Regions from separate parts of the Homo sapiens genome. Here region 2 is linked to region 1. Evidence: promoter capture Hi-C in 16 types of primary human blood cells and fetal thymus (Javierre and others, 2016). All regions are on one chromosome and are shown on one strand. The core of a region is centred on a gene start or on the middle of the fragment in contact, and the rest is flanking DNA. Distances in the headings are between cores, read along the strand shown.

Region 1 (3,420 bases), core at 1-2,500:
AGACACTCATTTAACACTTGAATGAATGAATGAGACACAGGATCTGGGGAACAAAGCAAGTTAGAAACACCACCCTACCTTACCTAGAGTAGCACTCCCATTTTCCCATGGCTTATTGCCTGTTTTCTCAATTTGCTCATATGTGGAATGAATGACAAACTAATACGTGCCCTTCACTTCAGAATCTCACAAATGAGCATGATTTTTTTCTTCTGATCCAGGGGTTTTGGAACACACTTTACAGTGACCAAAAAACCTTTGTGAAGTGTCAGTGTGGAGAAGCAAATACAAACTCTTCACTAAGTGGCCCTCTTTTTGAATGTTAACACGGTTTGGTCCCAGGGATTTCTGTGTTCAAAGCCTTTCAGGGCAAGGCAGTTTTCTGCGGAGTACACTGTCCTATATACCTAATGGGCTACTGGGTTTCAGCTGGACAAAGTCCTTATAGAGCCGTGATTCTCAAGAAGTAGGGGGAGATACTTTTATTTGTCATAACTAGAGTGGAGAGAGTGTGGTGTGCTACTGGCATTTAGTTGCTAGGGATGCTCAATATCCTACAATTAAGGTTCTATTTTTACCAAGTAAAAATATAGGTAGGCAAGGTAGCCAGATGAAATACAGGGACTTCCAGTTAAATGTGAATCTTAGATGAACAACACTGTTACCTGAAACTCAAATTTAACTGTATTTTATCCGTGACCCTGCCTCCTATAATGCACAGGACAGCCTCCTTCCCTCTCAACAAAGAATTATCCAGGCCCAAAATGTCAAGAGTGGAGGTTGAGAAACCCTGCCATACAGCAGTGGTTCTCAAGCCCTAGTTTGTACCACAATTACCTTCAGGGTTGGTAAGGCCGATTATTGGGCACACCCTCAGAGTTTCTTACTCAGAAGGCCTGTAGTGGGGTCCCAAGATTTGCATTTCCATCGATTTCCCAGGTGAAGCTGCTGTTAGATTGGGGGCACATTTGAGAACCACTACCCTAGAAAGTCCCCATGCTCTCCTGATTAGGAAGGAGCGAGGAAGGTTTCCAAAGTAGGACAGGGGTGGGAGGGTAAGGGAGAGTGGCGGGAAGAGCTGGCCCGCTGGGGTGGGTTATTTCGGCCGTTCTGGCCTCGCAGGCGTTTTCGGGATCCCTCTAGGCGCCGCGGAGGTCCTGGAGTCTCGATGGTCGCTCGGGCCGGGGCGTGGCCTGGCCCGGGGGCGTGGCATGGAAGGCCGGCCGAGGTGCAGCGAGCCCTCTGGTGCCGGACGTTGCGCGGCCGCGACGCCCGACGCCAACGCAGGCGCAGCGCTCCGATTCGGCGCGGCTCATGGTCCGGTTCGGGCTCGCGAGTCTCCGTCTGGGGTAGGGCAGGTAGGCCTCAGTGTGCTCGCGCTGCAGGCAGGGCTTCGCTTGAGTACAGGAGTGGTTGGCGTTGATGTTGCGTTTTCTCAACGGCGGCATCCGAGGAGTTCGTCCTCACCACTGCGCGCCGACGGTGGGCTGGCGGGACCAGGACAGGAACAATGGGATTCCGAGGGCCGCAAGGGGGCGCTCCTTCTGCGGGTTGGGGTGCGAGGCCGGAGGCCGGGCCGGCTGAGCGGGAGGCGGAGCGGGGTGGGTGGGGACCAGGGCGGGGTCGGGCTAAAGAGGGATGGATTCAGGGCGGGGTGGGAGGGACCAGGGCAGGCTCGGGCGGGGTGGGCGGGACGAAGGAGGCGGGCGGCCTGAGGCTGGCGGCGGGACTGCGAATGCCACGTCACATCCTGGGGCGGGGTGGCTCTGTGCCGGGGCGCGCTGGGGGCGGGTCGTTTTTAACTGCGTCTGCCTGGGAAGCTGCTGAGGTTTCTGAGGGTCTTTGTTTGCCCTTCTTTCTCTTTTGCTAGTGAGGTGAAGAGAAGGGAGGGTTCTTCCGTATCCCACAAAAGCCATTCTGAGCTGTTGGGTGAAGGGGTGGCCTGCCCTTCCACACCTGTGGGATATCTTGTCAGGTGGGAGGAGAGACTGAGAAAAGAAATAAGACACAGAGACAAAGTATAGAGAAACCACAGTGGGCCCAGGGGACCGGCACTCAGCATACCAAGGACTTGCACCAGCACCGGTCTCTGAGTTCCCTCAGTTTTTATTGATTATTGTTTTCATTATCTCAGCAAGAGGAATGCGGTAGGAGAGCAGGGTGATAAGGAGGTCAGCAAAGAAACATGTGAGCAAAAGAATTTATGTCATAAGTTCAAGTGGAGGTACTATGCCTGGATGTGCACGTAGGCCACATTTATGTTTCTCTCTGCCCAAACATTTCAGTGGAATAAAGAATAACAGGGCAGCATTGCTGCCAACATGTCTTGCCTCCTGCCATAGGGCAGTTTTTCTCCTATCTCAGAATTGAACAAATGTACAATCAGGTTTTGTACGGAGACATTCAGTTCCCAGGGGCAGGCAGGACACAGTGGCCTTCATCTATCTCAACTGCAAGAGGCTTTCCTCTTTTACTAATCCACCTCAGCACAGACGGGTGTCGGGCTGGGGGACGGTAAGGTCTTTCTCTTCCCACGAGGCTGTATTTCAGACTATCACATGGGGAGAAACCTTGGACAATACCCGGCTTTCCAGGGCAGAGGTCCCTGTGGCTTTTCATGGTGCATTGCGCCCCTTGTTTATTGAGACTAGAGAATGGTGATGACTTTTACCAAGCATACTGCTTGTAAACATTTTGTTAACAAGACATGTCCTGCACAGCCCTAGACCCCTTAAACCTTGATTCCATACAACACATGTTTTTGTGAGGTCAAGGTTGGAGCAAAGAGGTTGGGGCAAAGTTACAGATTAAGAGCATCTCAGGGCAAAGCAATTGTTCAAGGTACAGGTCAAAATGGAATTTCTTATGTCTTCCCTTTCTACATAGACACAGTAGCAGTCTGACTTCTCTTTCTTTTCCCTACAGTTAGGCACCTGGCTCAGCTTTGGGGCATTTACATCTATAAAATGTCTTTTGAATAATTTTTATCTTGAATTAATTTCAGAGTTTCAGAGTGTTGTGAAACAAGCAAAAATTCCCATGTACGGTTCGTCTGGATTTCCTAGGGGTTAACATCTTATTTTACAAAACAGTCAACAAAACCAGGATATTAACACCTACAGGCCTTATTCGAATTTCTTTACTCTCACCTATTTCCATTTTGTAATTTAGGTTCCAAGACAGCATTTAGTTGTCCTGTCTTTCCTTGGAGAAATTTACATTTTAAACAGCAGCTCTCCCACCTCCCAATCCCCTAGGACCCTTTAGAGTGGCCTGGGGAGCTCCAGGTCTCACACCAAGTTGCTTTTTCTTTGTTGAGTGCCTGGGCCAGTTCAGTTGAGAATGCCCAGTTGGACCTCTGGGCAGCTCGTGACCACCCTCTGCTCTTCCTCCCAGTGCTGCTAGGCTTAGTGAATGGCA
Region 2 (3,650 bases), core at 708-3,207, 1.6 Mb before region 1:
AGCATCCCAGGAAACCAACAGCGCCACATGCAGATGTAATCAAGACGCTCTGGTACCTTGGGTGGCTGGGTCCTCCTGGAGAGATCCGAGATGGGCAGGCCAAGCAGGCCACTATCTTGAAGCTCCGGAGCCGAAGTCACTGTTCTTGTTATTAAGACCTTTACAAATGGAGCTGGAATGACAAAGACATGCATCGGATGAGCCTTCAAGCACATCCAGGAATGGAAAATCCACCCTTCTGGTGGCAGAGGGCTGATGGTGCTGCGTGCTGGATGGACAACCCAGCCAGAATCAGCTTTGCCCAGCAGAGTCTGCAATGGGAGGCAAGGGAAAACATCACATGAGACAGCTACATGCAGTCTACCAGGGACAAATAACACTGCATCTAGAAGTATCAGTGGTTTCCTATGAGCCTTCTGCCAATTCTGCCCTGACCTTCAACCTCGCCTCCACCCTATTCTCTATCCTTGCCCTCTTCAAACCACATTGAAGGCAACTGCACACTCGCCAAAGCCCTTCCTCGGCCAGGACAGAAAAGTGGGTCCGTCACTGCACAGCTCAGCCCTCAAAGAACCCCTGGACACTGCAGCTGCCACACCCCCAAGGTGGGACTCAGGGGTCCCTACACCTCCCCGCTGGTGTGCAGACAACTAGCCGACACTTTTGCCACAACTAGGGTGGCAAGAGACCAGCAACCAGTATACCTGGTGTTTATGATTCCCACTTTAGAACGCTGGGCCCGTGAAAGGGCACATGGGGACACTCACAGTCCCCTTCTCTGCCATCAGGCCTCTGTGATCCTTAGGACCGGCAGTGCCTGCCACTCCCCCATCTGCACGAGGTTGTCCAGCGTGGCCGCGTCTTAACCTCCAACAGCTCACAAGGTGGGAAGGGGGACTCGGGCCTCACTCCCATTTCACAGAAAGACAAGTGATGCCAGAAAAGCTACGGAACAACTGAGTGGTTCCAGAAACACCCACTGCTCTGAATCTCTTTGCTTTCCAAAGTAACAACATACACAGAAACCCATATGGGGGCCGTGGCGGCGTCGGGCTGGACGCATTACAGCGCTCCCCACCACCGGATCGCTTCCAGGGCGGCTCCGGCATCTGGAGCCCGGGGTGGGCCCCGCCCGCCCTGCTCGGCGGCCCCCTGCGGCGCCCATCACACACCTGCAGCGCCCAGGACTACTCAGGCCCGCCCCCCCGAGCACCGGCGCCCACCCGGGCTGCCACTCGGATCGTCTCCAACCAGACGGCCGCGTCCGTCTTTGTCACGGCGGCACCTGGCGCGTCGGAGGCTCGGAGGAGATGCCTGATGAATGAACTAACGTGAGTGAGGCGGAGGAGGGCCCCGCAGGGGCGGAGCGAGCTCCCAGCCTTTCGCGGAGGAGGGACCGAGCTGGATCGGCAGAAAGGGAAGGAGAAGGTCGCTGTGGGCCAGGGAAGGGGGAGCCCGCCCTCCGCGCCCTCGGTCTCCCTCACACGCGCGTCTCCCGTCTCGCCGGCTCCGGGCTCCTCACCTCACAGCCTGGAGCTCCCTCCCGGCGTCCGGCCGAAAACCCTCCTGTGGCGGCGGAAGTCCAGGGCAGCCGTCCTCATCCTCCCAGCCCGCCCGGCCGGGCGTACTCGCTGAGGCGGGGTCTCCGCAGGCGCCCGGCTCCTTTCCCGGCCCGTCCAGACCGCGTCTCCCGATCATCCGGAAAGCCACGGCTCGGCTCGGGGGCAAATGGAGGCGCCTGAAAAACAATGGTGTTGCTTTCTCCCCCGCCCGCACCTTCCTGAGCGCTGGGCTCTGGGCTGGGAGGCGGCGCCGCGGAGGCCGGGCGCGGGCCGAGGAGGGCGGGGCGGGGCCGGCCGCGGGAGCCGGGGTGCACTCACCGCCGCGGCGCGTCCCTGTTGGCGGGCGGCGCAGGCCTGGCCGCCGCGGGAGCCCGCCGGACGCCGAGGAAAGGAAAGGCCGGAGCCCTCCGGCTCCCTCCCCTGGGACACTTCCTGCTCCGCTCTAGGACTGGGGAGGTCTCCGCATCTCAGTGGTTCGCTCCCCCGCCCCCCGGCCGAGGTGTGCGCTGGGGGTGACATCCGACACCCCCGGCCCGCCCCGCTCCGCGCGCGCCTGGGCCTGGCCGCCGGGCCGGGGGCTTTGTGGGTCAGCCACGTCGCCGCGCCCGGGCTTCCCCGCGGGCCCGCCGGTCCGGAAGGTCGGCCCGGGGCTCTTTTCTCCGCTGTTCTCCTTCTCTGGCGCCCCCAGGACACGCGGCCAGTGGACGCCCGGAACGGCCGACCGGGAGTCGCGGCTGGGGATGGAAGCTGGAATTGGGGGTGCGGGATGGAGCGGAGAGAGGAGGCCCCGCGCGCCGTCGGCCGCCTCATTTCAGACTCCCCTGCGACCCCCCCCCCGCCGCCAGCCGAAGCCCGGGCCGCCCAGCCCCTCCTGCCGCTGCGGGACGCCGAAGGTAGCGCTCACATCCGCGCCTTCCGGGCCTGGCGCCCACGTGCGGAGTCCCCGGGTTAGGAAAGGCCGCGCATCCGGAGGCCACGCAGAGCCTCGGGGCTTGCGCAGAGGGGCTGCGGTGAGTCCTGACCCTGAGTGGGGGTCACGGGGCTCGTTGCTCGCTGAAGTGAACACGGTTGCAGCTGTGCACAGTGGCGGAGGGAGAGGATGAGGGACTCTGACCCAAGGTTATGTGGCAGTGAGGGGCAAGCAGAAATGGGGGCCTCCGGACCCCACCCCGAGACAGGGCTGCTGGCCGCTGCACTATGCTGAATATAGCCCAAATTCTTACATGGGTCGTCCCCGGGGAATGCTCATTTTTCAGGCTCCAGAGCTTGAGAGAAAGTGCGAACCCGGTCCCTGAGCAGGTCTGATTCCCATGGCCCCTTCGCCATCTGCTCTGCACCGAAATTGGATTCTCCTACGCAGAGGAGAAGGTGGAGAAGATTCTCCGTCTTCCGGAGGGTAGCTACTGCCGGTAGCTCCGATTTCCTTCGGATCCCCTTTCAAGGGCAAGCAGAAGGAAATCAGTTTCTCCAAAGAAAGTGGCCCGGCTGAGTAAGTGGGAACAAGGTGGTTGGACTGAGGCACGGGATCCTTTAGCTCCGTTGCTCTTCTAATCCCGTGGCCCTGGGCACCGCCACTTCCTCCTCTGAACTGCTGGAATAATCACTTCTGACTAGCAGAGTTACTGGGAGCCGCTGTTTGTCAGTGTTCACATTCTGACTTTAGCAGGAGATGGAGCGAGCGAAGGAGTGAAGCCCTTGTTTGTGAACAGTGATTGTTTCCCGGATGACAGCCAGATGCCGGGCAGGGCCACGCAGATCTTAGCTGGAGCCTACAGGTACAAGTGAGAGCCACCCCCTTTGACGTAACTGGACTGGCATTTACAGAACTCATGTACAGCCCACTCTCAGGAACACCAGCCAGGAACCGTGACATGGAGGAGAGGAATTGGGAGGAACCGAGGGGTCATCAAAGGCTGGTAGGGCTTAGGTGCTCTAGCAAACATCCTAGTCTGTGGGGTTCCAGAGCTCTGGTGCTACAGCTCCCAACCCTTTGATTGGCCCAGGAACTGGCTGTTGAGTGGGCATCCGTGTTCATAGCTCTGCCCCTTGCAACCCTAAAGCAGATAAAATGCAGGAGGCAGAAATTGC

What was found. Contacts are between HindIII fragments. The CHiCAGO score rates a contact against its expected background, and 5 or more counts as called.
Region 2: the fragment with the promoter of ZNF496 here is called in contact with the fragment with the promoter of PGBD2 in region 1 in 1 of 17 cell types (fetal thymus); the score reaches 7.3 in fetal thymus.

The regions. Positions count from the first base shown.
Region 1 is chr1:248,904,985-248,908,404 of GRCh38, forward strand. It overlaps PGBD2 (piggyBac transposable element derived 2), which reads left to right and starts at 1,251. Exons shown (of 3, transcript NM_170725.3): 1 at 1,251-1,358. RefSeq lists enhancers at 881-1,802, 1,327-1,516 and silencers at 1,137-1,196, 1,607-1,696. The HindIII fragment of the contact is 4,441 bases long and covers 1-3,420 here.
Region 2 is chr1:247,329,910-247,333,559 of GRCh38, forward strand. ZNF496 (zinc finger protein 496) reads right to left here and starts at 1,958. Exons shown (of 10, transcript NM_032752.3): 1 at 1,881-1,958; 2 at 1,523-1,738; 3 at 57-172. ZNF496-DT (ZNF496 divergent transcript) reads left to right here and starts at 2,145. Exons shown (of 3, transcript NR_168399.1): 1 at 2,145-3,337. RefSeq lists silencers at 996-1,235, 1,806-1,915, 2,046-2,525, 3,638-3,650 and an enhancer at 1,838-2,132. The HindIII fragment of the contact is 9,597 bases long and covers 1-3,650 here.